Linked DNA regions of Homo sapiens: regions 1 and 2 are each linked to region 3. The links are contacts of gene promoters, found by promoter capture Hi-C in blood cells and fetal thymus (Javierre and others, 2016). All regions are on one chromosome and are shown on one strand. Each heading gives the region's core, a stretch centred on a gene start or on the middle of the fragment in contact. The rest is flanking DNA. Distances are from core to core; before and after follow the strand shown. Region 1 has its middle 35 kb from the start of UFM1. Region 2 has its middle 16 kb from the start of UFM1. Region 3 holds the start of RFXAP (regulatory factor X associated protein).

Region 1 (4,256 bases), core at 1,415-3,914, 1.6 Mb before region 3:
GTGAAAATGTAACTTACGGGATGGGAGAAAATAATTGCAAATCATTTCCCTGATAAGGGGTTAATATCCAGAATGTATAAATAATTCCTACAACTCAACAACAACAATAATGAATAACCTAATTAAAAAATGGGCAAAAATCTTGAATAGACATTTCTCTAGATAATACATGTAAGTGACCAAAAAGCATGTGAAAAGATGTTGACATCACTAATCCCTAGGAAAATGAAGATACCACAATGAGATATCATTTCACACCCATTAGGGTAGCTAGTATTTAAAAAAAAAAAAGAAAATAACAGATGTTCACAAGGGTATGAAGAAAGTGTGCACTGTTGGTGAGCATGTAAAATGGTGTAGCCAATATGAAAAACATTATGGGGGCACCTCATACAATTAGAAATAGAATTACCATATGGTCTAGCAATTCCACTTCTTAAATCCAAATAAACTAAAAGGTGAATTTCAAGAGATATTTGTACACCCAGAGTCACAGCAGCATTATTCACAATAGCCAATAGGTACAAGTAACCAAATGTTCATTGATAGATGAATAAATAAATTAAATGTGGTATATACACACAATAGAATATTGTTCAGCTTTAAAAGGGAAGGAAGTCGGACACATGCTACAACATGTCCTCAAGGTTGAGGACATTATGCTAAGTTAAATAAACCAGTCCCAGTAAAACAATACTTATGATTCCATTTATATGAGATACTAGAGTAGTCCAATGGATACAGACAGAAAGTAGAATAGTGATTGTGACACCACTCCAAGGAATGCAGTGATGAGGAATTGTTTAATGGGTACACAGTCTCAGTTTTGCAAGATGAAAAAGTTCTGTAGATTCATTGCACAATGGTGTGAATACACTTAACACTACTGAACTGTAGACTTAATGGCTAAGATGGCAAAATTTATGTTATGTATTTTATCACAATTACAAATAAACAATGCTTTAAGTAAAATGAAATATCTTACCTCTCAAATTATCAGAGTTTAAATTATAGCATTAAATATATTAAAACATCCTGATTATATGTAAATATAATGTTTTATATATATACTGTGTATTTTATTTATATGACACATAAAATGCATGAATATAATAGCAAACATCTTCAGAAGAATTGTCTTCATTACTGTCTCCACCTCTTTCCCGTTTGTCCTTTCTGCAGTCTTTCCTAGTCAGCCTGTCAGTCCACAACTTCACTGAAACTACTCTTAAACTCGACATCAAATTCTATGTTGCTAAGTTCAATTTGAGTTCAATTTCTAATCTTTGTTCTAGATCTTGCAGGAGGATTTGACATAAATGATCATTTCCTGGCTGAAAAACGTCTTCAATTTTCTATTTGTATTCCCTACTCTTTCTGTTTTCCTTCTACTGAATTGACAATATTTTCTCAGTCTCATTTTCTAGTTACTCTTCACCTTTTCCAATTTGAAATGTTGGATTACTACAGGACATAATTCTTGGAACATATTTTTGTTTTCTCCTCACTCTCTAGGTGTATTTATTCCATTCTTTGGCTCTAAATCCCATTTGTGTGCATGTGATTTCTCCGTTTATATCTCCAGACCATACTTCCTCTCTGAACTTCAGACTTGTATATCTCACTGCTTACTCCACATCCCAATTTGGATGTCAAGTATGCAATTCAAGACCAACACGTCGAAAACAAAACTTTTGCTATCCACTTTCTCCAACCACTTACCTCACTAAGAAATGAAAACACCATTCAGGCAGTTGCTTGAGTCAAGAACCTAGAAGTCATCATTGATTCATCTCTTTTTCTCAGCAGATTCTGCTGGTTCTATATTTAAAGTACATTTAGAGTAAAATTACTTCTCATCACTTTTATTTCTGGTACAAGCAACTGTATTTTGCCTGCACTGATGCAAGACCCTCCAAACTGGTATTATTTTCTTTCTTCTCTTTCCTGCCTACAGTTTAATCTTCACCCAGCAACCAGCATACTCTTTAACAACGGAAATCAGATCACATTACTCTCTCGCTAAATCTTCCCAGTAACCCCCCTGTAACACTAGAACAAAAGCCACAGAACTCAATAAATCTGCTGTGATATGCCTGGACCTAATTTTCCCTCGCTCTTGTCCTCACGTCCTCCACTCCGATCTCAGTGTGCTTTTGCGATTCTAGCATGTCAAATTTTTCTGTCTCCTGAGATTTGAACCTGTGTTTCCCTCTGCCTGTCATGTTGTCCCTATGATGTAAATGGGTTGTTCCTTCATCTTATTCATCTTTCTGCTCAAATGACACCTCCTCAAGAGGTTATCTCTGACCACCTTAATTAATACCATCCTTCTCATCACTTATGAGCTTCCCATCCTGCTGTACTGTTGGCTTGTAGCACCTATCACCTCCTGAGATGATTTTATGTAATTTTTTTGTTATTTTTATTTGTTACGTGCTCTATTAAAATCCAAGGTCAGAGACATGTTTATTCACCAGTGTTTCTTCAATGCCAAGAACAGAACTCAGACTGTAGAAGTGTGCAATAAATATTTGTTAAACAAATGAATAAACACCAATTTTATGCAAACAAGTATTAAAAGTTTGAAAAGAAAAACGAAACAACAAAACAACTTTGTTCTATACACATTCAATGCTTTTAAAAATTGCTATAACAATGTGCTGGTACATAATAAAAATAATCACTTGTTTAAAGACAAACACATCTAGAAGTAGCTTAACTAACACAGTGAAAAATACTGATTTGTCACCCAGCAAGCACCTAAAACATTAGAATATGTTTAAGGCAGTAAAAAAAAGAATCTATGGCATTTTTCTTCTGAATAAATACTTACAGGTAATATATTAAATATTTAGGATATCCAAAATCTTAATGTTTTTCTCAACAATATTCCTTCGGCTTTGAATATTTGATAACAGTAACTCTTTTTTTTTGAGCTAGCAAACATTTGCTTTTAATTAGTACACAATAAAACTCAAACCATAGTGTTTACATTTTTAACATATTTCACATTTCTTGCTAAAGTTTGAACAGCTCTTTGCAGATCAAAGTCTTTTTTTCATCTAGTTTTATAATGAGCACAGTAACTCTTTAAATTAACGGATAAACACACACACATAAGTGGAATGCATTCTTTTTATAAAAAATTCGAATAATATTAAAATTAAAATCACTTTACCAGTGTTAAGACTAAAGTACCCATATATATATATAATATTTATCATGTAATATTTGCTTTATGTCCTATTTTAACTTAATATTATATTATGAATATTTTTCATCTCATTTTAAAATAGTATGCTTTCATAACTGAATATCTATTACTAAACATTTTGGTTATTTCCTTTGTGTTTTCTTCTTTGCTTTTGTAAATAATAGTGGGATAACTTTTGCACAGAAACATTTATGCACACCTCTGATTACTTCCATTGAATAAATTCCTAGAAATGGGGATAGTGCGTAAAAGAAGATATTTAAGACTTTTGATAATATGGCCCTATAATCCTCCAGAAAGACTGCATCATTTTACATTTACTTGGGTCCTGTATGAGTGTGTCTGTTTCTGGCATCTTTTGCCAACTCTGAATATCATTTTTTAATTCTAATCTTTGATACTTTGATGGATAAAATAGCATCTTATTGTATTATTTTGTATCTCTAGTAAGTTTTGAATGTCTAGTTTTCTTAACTTTTAAATTAAAAATTAGGAAATAAAATACAATTTCATTTTATGAAAATGAAATAAAATACAATTTCATTTTATGAAAATGAAATAAAATACAATTTCATTTTATGAAAATGAAATAAAATACAATTTCATTTTATGAAAATGAAATAATATACAATTTCATTTTATGAAAATGAAATAAAATGAAATTTCATTTTATGAAACTGAAATAAAATGAAATTTCATTTAATGAAACTGAAATAAAATGAAATTTCATTTAATGAAACTGAAATAAAATGAAATTTCATTTAATGAAACTGAAAATGAAATTTCATTTTATGAAACTGAAATAAAATGAAATTTCATTTAATGAAACTGAAATAAAATGAAATTTCATTTTATGAAACTGAAATAAAATGAAATTTCATTTTATGAAACTGAAATAAAATTTCAGAACCTTCTTAATTTATTATGCCAAGGTGAAAAGTTAAGCCCTGGAAACTGAGTCACATAGCACCACTGCTTTTCTTTCTGTCATGCATGACTATTGCTTCTTAACCTTTGTGTTGAGATAGTATATGTTAAA
Region 2 (4,109 bases), core at 512-3,011, 1.5 Mb before region 3:
GTCATAGGCAAATGAGCCTTTGCAGTTTTTAAAATGCTTTTGTTTGAGTCATTTTTTGACATGTAAATTTTACCAGAAGGTTACTGTTCCCAGACCAAACTTAGGGTCGGGGTGCTTATTCTCGCAGCCCAATAACAAGATGCAGATGAACTGAGGAGGAAGAGAGTTTTTATTTCTGTAACTGGTTACAGGGAGAAGGCCTGGAAATTATCGCCAGACCAACTCAAAATTAAAAGTTTCCGTGAGCTTATATACCTTCTAAGCTATATGTCTATGCGTAAGTATGCATTCATCTAAAGATATAAGTGATTAACTTCCTTTATTCTGTAACTAAGATCTGAGTCCTAAAGCCATTCATCTGGATCCTCAGTAAATTTAGTTAATCTAAATGGGTCCAGGTGCTGGGGTGATTACCCTTATCTTGTCTTCTGCTAAACCATGGAGGTTTGGGGAGTTTCTTCGGACTCCCAGTAAAACTTGTCTAATCCTAAACAGGTCCTGTCAAGAAGTCCTTCTTTATCTTGTCATGCTTTAAGGCCCAGGAAAGACCTGGGCAAAACTCTTGGTGGGCTTTTGTTACATTTCAGCCTTTGCAAAAGGGCACTGGCTCTGTCAGCTTTTAATATTTAACTTAACCACCAAGTCAGTGCTGAAACAGTTGTTACGGAGGCCTGTGTTAGTGAGACCTGGCCTGCTGCAATACCTTTATGCTTTTAATTTTAAGAAACTATATTATTCTGTTATTCATACTTGAGTTAATTAGAGCAAGATCATACTGAGTTAATTATCACAAGATTTTTGGATAAAACAACCTCTAAAAATATATGTGCTATTCAACTTTGGGTGAGCAAACAATTTTCTGCAACAAACATCCTAACACAATTATTTCCTGTAATAAATATTTTTAGTTACAAGTTTTAAGTGGCAAGAAGCATTTTGGATTTCTTAGTAAGCAGACTTACACATGTGGGCTTCCAATATATATTTATATATGCGTATTACATCTCTCTCTCTCTCTCTCTCTATATATATATATATCTTCTACTTTGCTAAGAAAAAAATTTTAAAAAATTAATTCTGTAAGCATGTCTCAGTTTTCATAGCATTGATTTAAAGAAGTCTCAAAATTAAATAGAGTTTTGAAAGCTAATTAATCAAGTGAAGTCAAGTTGCTGGAAGAGTAAGTTTCAGTACATCTTTTTAAAATATTTCAGCTGTGAAGCTTTCCTTTCTGTGTGAATTATTTGTATTCAATGCAAAATGATAGCAATGAAAGAAGAACATTTATACTATTAAAAAGATAACATTTATATTATTAAAAGCTTTCACTCAGGTGTTTATGGACACCTGACATGTAACCTTTTAATCTCCAAATTTAAGCAAACTGTTTGGAATAATAAAGTATAAAAAAGTAAATAGTCACACTTCGTAAAACCCATGCCTGATTGTATTTGGTCATATTATAAATGATATCATCAGTGTCGTTATTTCTTTTTTTGTTCATCAAAAACTTACAAGAAGCTAGAAAACCTTCTAATGTTTTTAAGATGGCTTCTGTGGCTTTTCATGTGTCTCCTTGGCAATTTAATTAAAATGTTTCTGAAAAATTCAGATTACAAAAGGAAAAAATAAACATAACAGTGGGTGTTGATTGTTCTTTACCTGAGAGAGAGTAATCATTGAGGATATGATACAAAAATACAGATTTAACATAACATTTATCATAACTGATATGGAATGATGAACTTACCTTTTTTCCAACTGCTAATAAGGCATAATGCTTATCTTCTAATAACATTATTTTTATTTTCTTAGTAAATGAGAAATTGTGGCTTGCAGTTTCTGGCTTCAGTTTAATGCCTAGCTAAGACCGAGCTAGAGAATATAGAGTCTATAAATTTCTTTTCCACACTTTAGTAAATAAGACTACAGTTTCCAGACCCAGGCAACTAGTTTTCAAGTCCTGCCATTAGCATGAGGCTTTTACAACTTACTGGCAATCGCACAAAACCTGTCTAAGAATAATGTTTTTAAATGTTTGAATAAAGTACATAGATTACAAAAAGAATAAAGATATAGAATATTTCCATCACTCCAGAAACTTCCTTTGTGTTCTTTTCCAGGCAATTCATCGTACCCATGAGCAACCATTTACCTGATTTCTTTTACCATGACTTAGCTTTGTCTATTGTAAAGCTTCATATAATTGAAATAATACAGTAAACTATCTTTTGTGTCTGGCTTTTATTCAGTGTGATGATTATGTTATTGCATTTTAGGAACATATTGCTGAGTAGTATTCGATTGTGTAAATATACATAATTTGTTTATTCTCTTGTTATGGACATTTGGGTTACTTCGAGTTTATTTATAGCCTTATAAATAAGGCTGATATTAACATTTTTGTAGAAGTAATTTTGGTGACATATATTTTCTATATCCTGAATAAATGCTTTTTTTTTTTTTTTTTTTTGAGACAGAGTCTCTCTGTGTCACCCATGCTAGAGTGCAGTGGTGCCATCTTGGCTCACTGCAACCTCTGCCTCCCAGGTTCAAGTGATCCTCCTACCTTAGCCTCCCGAGTAGCTGGGATTACAGGCATGTGCCACCATGCCTGGCTAACTTTTGCATATTTAGTAGGGACGATGTTTCCTCATGTTGGCCAGGCTGGTCTCAAACTTCTGGCCTCAAGTGATCTGCCCGCCTTGGCCTCCCAAAGTGCTGAGATTACAGGTATGAGCCGCTGTGCCCGTCCTGAATAAATTTTTAGTAGAGGAATTGCTGGGTAGTTGTACATTTGACTTTAAAAGAAACTGTGACAGAGATTTCCAAAGTCGTGGTACTATTTTTCAGTCCCATCAGCAATGTCTGAAGTTCTAATCGTTCCCTTCCTTTGTAAACAATGTTGTCATTTTAAAAATAGCCATTCTACTGGTTGTGTAGTAGTAACTCATGGTGGTTTTAATTTGCATTTCCAGGATGCCTTATAATATTGAGCACTTTTTTCATGTGCTTGTTGGTCAATTACATATCCACTTTTGGGAAATGTCCATTCAAATCTTTTGCCTATTTTCTTATTGTGTTATTTGTATTTTTATTATTGAGTTGTAAGAATTCCACAGATATATGTCTTACAAATATTTTCTTATACTTTTGGATTGCTTATTCATTTTTTAAGTCTTTAAGAGCATATATCTTTTATAAAGTCCATTTTTTCTTTTCTTATGATTAGTCCTTTTTTAAAATCTAGTATAAGAAATCTTTACATAGTCCAAGGTCACAAATATGCTCTCTTATATTTCCTCTTAGAAGCCTAATAGTTTTAGCTTTTACATTTTGGCCTGTAATCAATCTCAGGGTCACTTTTGTGGGTGGTGTAAGGCTAGGGTTGAAGTTAATGTTTTTCTCAAAGAGGGATCTAATTGTTCTAGCACCATTTTTAAAAATGAACAAAAAGAAAAAATATCATTCTTTCCCCATTGTATTATGTTGGCAACATGGTCAAAGACCAATTTACTGTACATGTATAGTTCTACTTGTAGACTCTCTATCCTATTCCTTTTTGCTGTATATATCCCTATGCCAGTGATACACTGTCTTGATTATTATAGTCTTGATTATTATAGCTTTACAGTAATTCCAAATATGAAGTGTTATAAGTACTGCAGCTTTCTTCTTTTTATTTTTCAAGATTGCTTTGCCTATTCTAAGTCTTGATTCTGTCCATGTGCATTTTAACATCGACTTGGAAATTTCAACAAATATCCAACTGGCATTTTCAGTGGGATTGTGTAGTCTTTAGAGGGATGTAGGAGAAGAAATTGTATCTTAATAATACTGAGTTAGGTCAGGAATGGTGACTCACACCTTTTATCCCAGCATTTTGGGAGGCTGAGGCAGGAGGATCACTTGAGCCCAGGAGTTCGAGACCAGTCTGGGTGGGATGGGGAGGCCCTGTCTTTACAAAAATTTTAAAAATTAGCCAGGTATGGTGGTGTGTGCCTGTAGTCCCAGTTATTTGGGAGGTTGAGGCAGGAGAATTCTTTTAGCCCAGGAATTTGAGGCTGCAGTGAGTTATGATGATGCCACTGCACTCCAGCCTGGGTGAC
Region 3 (4,386 bases), core at 1,495-3,994:
CTAAATCCCCGTAATCAGAGATTTGGTAAAACATACTATAAGAATATGGATTGAGGGGGTTTTTAAACTAAGATTACAGAAGTCCTGAGCCCATTAATTAGTATGCAAAATTAAAGTTACATAGTGGATTTTTCTAGGAAGAGTCTTCATTAAGTCACCAGACCCTCAAAGAAGTCCTCTTACTCCAAAAGAGTAAAACTTAAGGGAAAGAGAAGTCACTCAGTCCTAACCAGTGTGAATTAAGTATGACACACTGGCAACTGCAAATTTTAGAAATATTTAGAATATTATACTTTTTGTTTTTGAGACAAAGTCTTGCTCTGTCACCCAGGCTGGAGTGAAGTAGCACAACCATGGCTCACTGCAGCCTCAATCTCCTGGGCTCAATGATCCTTCCACCTCAGCCTCCCGAGTAGCTAGGACCACAGGCATGTGCCAACATACCTGGCTAATTTTTAAAATTTTTTTGTTGAGATGGGGTCTCCCTATGTTACCCAGGCTGGTCTCAAACTTCCGGGCTCAAGCGATCCTCCCTCCTAGGCCTCCCCAAGTTCTGGGCTTACAGGTATTAGCCACTGAGCCTGGCCTAGAACATTACATTTGTAAACAATTACAAGGTCTAATATTTTAGTGATGGAGCACTTCAAGTTCAGCCTGAAACTAAGAAATTTAAAGACTTAGAATACATCCTAGGACCCTAAGACAGCTTGCAGTTAAAAAAAATTTTTTTTTTTTTTTTTTTTTTTTTTTTAAGGAGACAGGGTCTTGCTATGTCATCCAGGCTGGAATGCAGTGATGCAAACAAGGCTCACGGCAGCCTCGAACCCCTGGTCTCAAGCAATCTTCCCACTTCACCCTCCCAAGTACAGCTGGGTATACAGGCACTTGCCACCATACCTGGCTTGGATCACTTGTAACAAAATTAAATTTTTCTCTACACTAAGGGATTATATAGCTCTCACAAGAAGAAATATCTGCTTATTTGTGACAGCCTCAAAGTATACCACTAACAATGACAATAATAATGGGTAAGGTTTGCAAACTTTAGCCAGTTGCTGGACACTGTGTGAACCCTCAATATGGAATGGCTCACATATTCACAGCAACACTATGAATGACACACGATTTTAATGCCCATTTTACAGAGTTTAATAACCTATTCAAGCCACAAGGCCAGTAAATGATGCAACAGGGATTTGCACCCAGAAGTCGAACTCCAGAACACTGGTTTTACCTTTGACTCAGTTCAAATCAAACAATCCAAAAGTTTTTTGAGACTTATACCCCATTATCATCCTTTTTTTCCCCCCTCAGGGGTACTAAGAAAAGGGGTAGTGAGAACAGGGTACTAACAACAAGGATACTGAGAACAAAGTATATTAAGTATTGGGGTAGTGAGAACATGAGAACAAGGGACTAAACATAGGGGTACTGGGAACAGAGTTGTAAGAAAAGAGTACTACGTACAGGGGTACTACAGACAGGCAACTGAGTATAGCAGTACTAAAAATACGGTACTAGGAAGAGGGTTAACAGAACAGGACACTAAAAACAAAGTACTAAATACAGGAGTATTACAAATAGAGGTACTGAGAACTGGGTACTGAGAACTGGATACTGAGAATAGAGTAGTGAAAACAGAAAGAGATGACTTTCTCAGAAGTACCAACTTCATCTAGGTTCCTAAGTCTCCTTTAGCGATGAACCAGACCGATCATTTACTCTATGTCCTTCCAGCCATATCCCAGATCTATGACAGCTCTGCCGATGTCACATTATTTTTACTGAAATTTCTGCACCTATCATGAGTTCAACAGAACTGTTATTGCTTTGCACATGTTGGTATAAACTTTAATTTAGGGCAAACACTCTAATTCTCAACCACTAACCCAGTCACTGCAAACCGGCCCATTTGGAAGTGGGGAGGCAGGCCCTGCAGATGCGGTTTGCGTTAAGATCGGGTTTCTTCTTCCACCTCCCATCCCCAGGCCTCAGCTAAGTCTGATACCTCGAGTTTGACGTTTCCCGCGCTGCCAGTCGAGGCAGTCCCACCGCAGTTCAGGGCCTGGTCGCTCTTCTTCTTTTTATACTTGTCCTTGTACATCTTGTTGCGGTGTTTCTTGCACATCCACGGTTTGCGCTGCTTGGCCACCTGGCTCGTGGTCTCGCTGCAGCCTTCGTAGGTGCAGGTCTTGCTCATGCTGCCCCCACCGCTGCCCCGCCTCCGGGCGCCCCCGCTGCTGCCCTCGCCCCCCGAGTGAGTCTCCTCGTCCTCTAGATCCTCCAAACTAGCCGCGCTCTCGCCTCCCCCCGGAGGGTCCGAAGTGTCTAACAGGTCCGCCTCGTCCTCCCCAGCCTCCTCTTCGCCATCCCCGGCCCCTTCGCACAGGTACCTAACGGGCTTGCCCGCCCCAACGCTGCCCCCGGGGGCCGCAGCCTCGTCCTGCCCAGCACAGGGTTGCATCACTAGCAGGGTGAATTGAGAGGCCGCGGCCGCCACCGAGGCTGGCGCCAAGGTGGGAGCCGCAGCCGGGGCTAGGGCCGCGGGGTGGGGCACGCCGCTGGCGGCGCCCGGCCCCGCGCCCTCCGCTACACCCTGCGCCTCCATGCTGCTAAGACCTGGCCGGGGTCCACGACCCCGGGCTTTTAGCACCTGCTTGGCCTAACGGCACTTCGCGAACCAAAGACTCAGGACACGCTGGGGTAAAAGGCGCCTATACCGGGAAGGCGCCCCGACTGCGCCTGCGCGACCGCAGCCTGCGCGTCAGCGTGTGTACGCCCGCGGGCTGTCAGGGAGCGCGGCGCCTCTGGGGGCGGGGCTGAGCGCACAACCAACGGGACTGACTGCGCATGTGCGGCCGCGGCCCCTTCGGCCAGCTGGGGGATTCGTAGACAGGGTCTGGGGGCTGTGTCAGGTGAAAACCTGCAGTGGCTGGCAAGGCAGCGCCGTTTTACCTGATCCTATTGTATCTAAAGCGGTTCAAAGTATCTTCTACAGGAGTTCCAGTATGCAAATTAGGATTGTTCCTGAGCGGTCTCACGACTTGTAGTGTTAGGATGCTAATTTTATTATTTCCCCCACAAACTGCCTGCAAGGGGAGATTTGAAGCTGGGATGCAGTGGTGTCACAGCCTAGAGTCACTAGCTCGCAGTCCATGAAGGCAGAGGTGGCTTATTTGAAAATAGTGGAGCGGAGAGGGATGGGCCACACCTTTGGCCGAGTTGTATTTGCATTGAGGGATAACTTTGTTTTTTTTCTCCTGGAAACTCACTTGATTGTTAGTACTTGCTCTTTGCTGTGGCTGCTGAGATAAGTCTTAACGTTTTCGTTTAACACAGTGAAAATGTGTGAAAAGGAATACTGAATGGCAAACGTTTAAAAAAACAATGAATGTTCTACCAGTTCTATCAGTTGCTGGGCAATTGCTGGTTGTTAAATCTTGGCTTGCCCAAATCCCAGGAGAGAAAATATCCTGCCGTATCCTGAACTGTTAAGTAGATGTTCTTTTTCCCTTCATCCTATTCTTTCGCCTAGTCAGATTTCCCATCCCACCTACCGGAAAGCAATGACTTTATTCAACAAACTATAAATCCATTCACACTAAGATGTTTGGGTGCTGACATATAGGTAGATCAGTTATGTTTTAAAGAGAGGCATATGGAAGGGAGAAGGTTTGGAATTAGAGCAACCTAGGTAGTACTTCCTGTGTGACTACAGCAAGTTCGTGACAGCCTCTCCGAGCCTCAGTTTCCTCATCAGTAAAGCCTGCAGTCGGTGGTGTGCTAGCGCCAACTGATGGTAACTGGTTGCTAAAATTTCAGGAATATAATTAGCAGAAAAATTAAACACTGCTATTATTAAAAGTCTTACTACATAAACTTACAATAAGATTATATTAAAAACAAAGGGTACAAATCTCAAAACTCTTCATTTTCTAATTATTTTATTATGTTTTATCATTATCTGTGCTTTTAAGGTTATTTATGTCTATTGTATCTGTATGCGGAAATATTATTTAGTGGTGTGTTACTGCACATTTTCCCAACTCTGCCTTCAGTATGTCATGTTGATTGCTTGAAATCAGCCACTTTTGGAGTATTTACACCAGGGAAATGATCAAATGCTACGAAGCAGGTTTACACTTATTGCTGATTGTCTCTGCACTTAAGAAAGTGACAGTGAAAATGTTAATGAAGATTAAATTTAAGGCCAGGCTCAGTGGCTCCCACCTGTAATCCCAGCGCTTTGGGAGGCTCAGGCAGGTGGATCACGAGGTCACGAGTTCGAGACCAGCCTGACCAACATGATGAAACCCCGTCTCTACTAAAAATACAAAAATCAGCCAGGTGTGGTGGTCCACACCTATAATCCCAGCTACTCAGGAG

Evidence for each region. Contacts are between HindIII fragments. The CHiCAGO score rates a contact against its expected background, and 5 or more counts as called.
Region 1: a contact is called between a fragment that was not itself captured here and the fragment with the promoter of RFXAP in region 3, in 1 of 17 cell types (monocytes). The highest score is 5.5, in monocytes.
Region 2: a contact is called between a fragment that was not itself captured here and the fragment with the promoter of RFXAP in region 3, in 1 of 17 cell types (total CD8 T cells). The highest score is 5.9, in total CD8 T cells.

What each region holds. Positions count from the first base shown.
Region 1 is chr13:38,383,126-38,387,381 of GRCh38, reverse strand. No RefSeq gene overlaps it. Among named protein-coding and RNA genes, the nearest start is that of UFM1, 35 kb to the right of the region's middle. The HindIII fragment of the contact is 5,585 bases long and covers 1-4,256 here.
Region 2 is chr13:38,331,379-38,335,487 of GRCh38, reverse strand. No RefSeq gene overlaps it. Among named protein-coding and RNA genes, the nearest start is that of UFM1, 16 kb to the left of the region's middle. The HindIII fragment of the contact is 874 bases long and covers 1,325-2,198 here.
Region 3 is chr13:36,817,580-36,821,965 of GRCh38, reverse strand. It overlaps RFXAP (regulatory factor X associated protein), which reads right to left and starts at 2,744. Exons shown (of 3, transcript NM_000538.4): 1 at 2,009-2,744. The coding sequence starts at 2,608. LOC124903158 (a long non-coding RNA gene) reads left to right here and starts at 2,895. Exons shown (of 2, transcript XR_007063760.1): 1 at 2,895-3,799. RefSeq lists enhancers at 1,937-2,166, 2,177-2,226 and a silencer at 2,457-2,826. The HindIII fragment of the contact is 8,641 bases long and covers 1-4,386 here.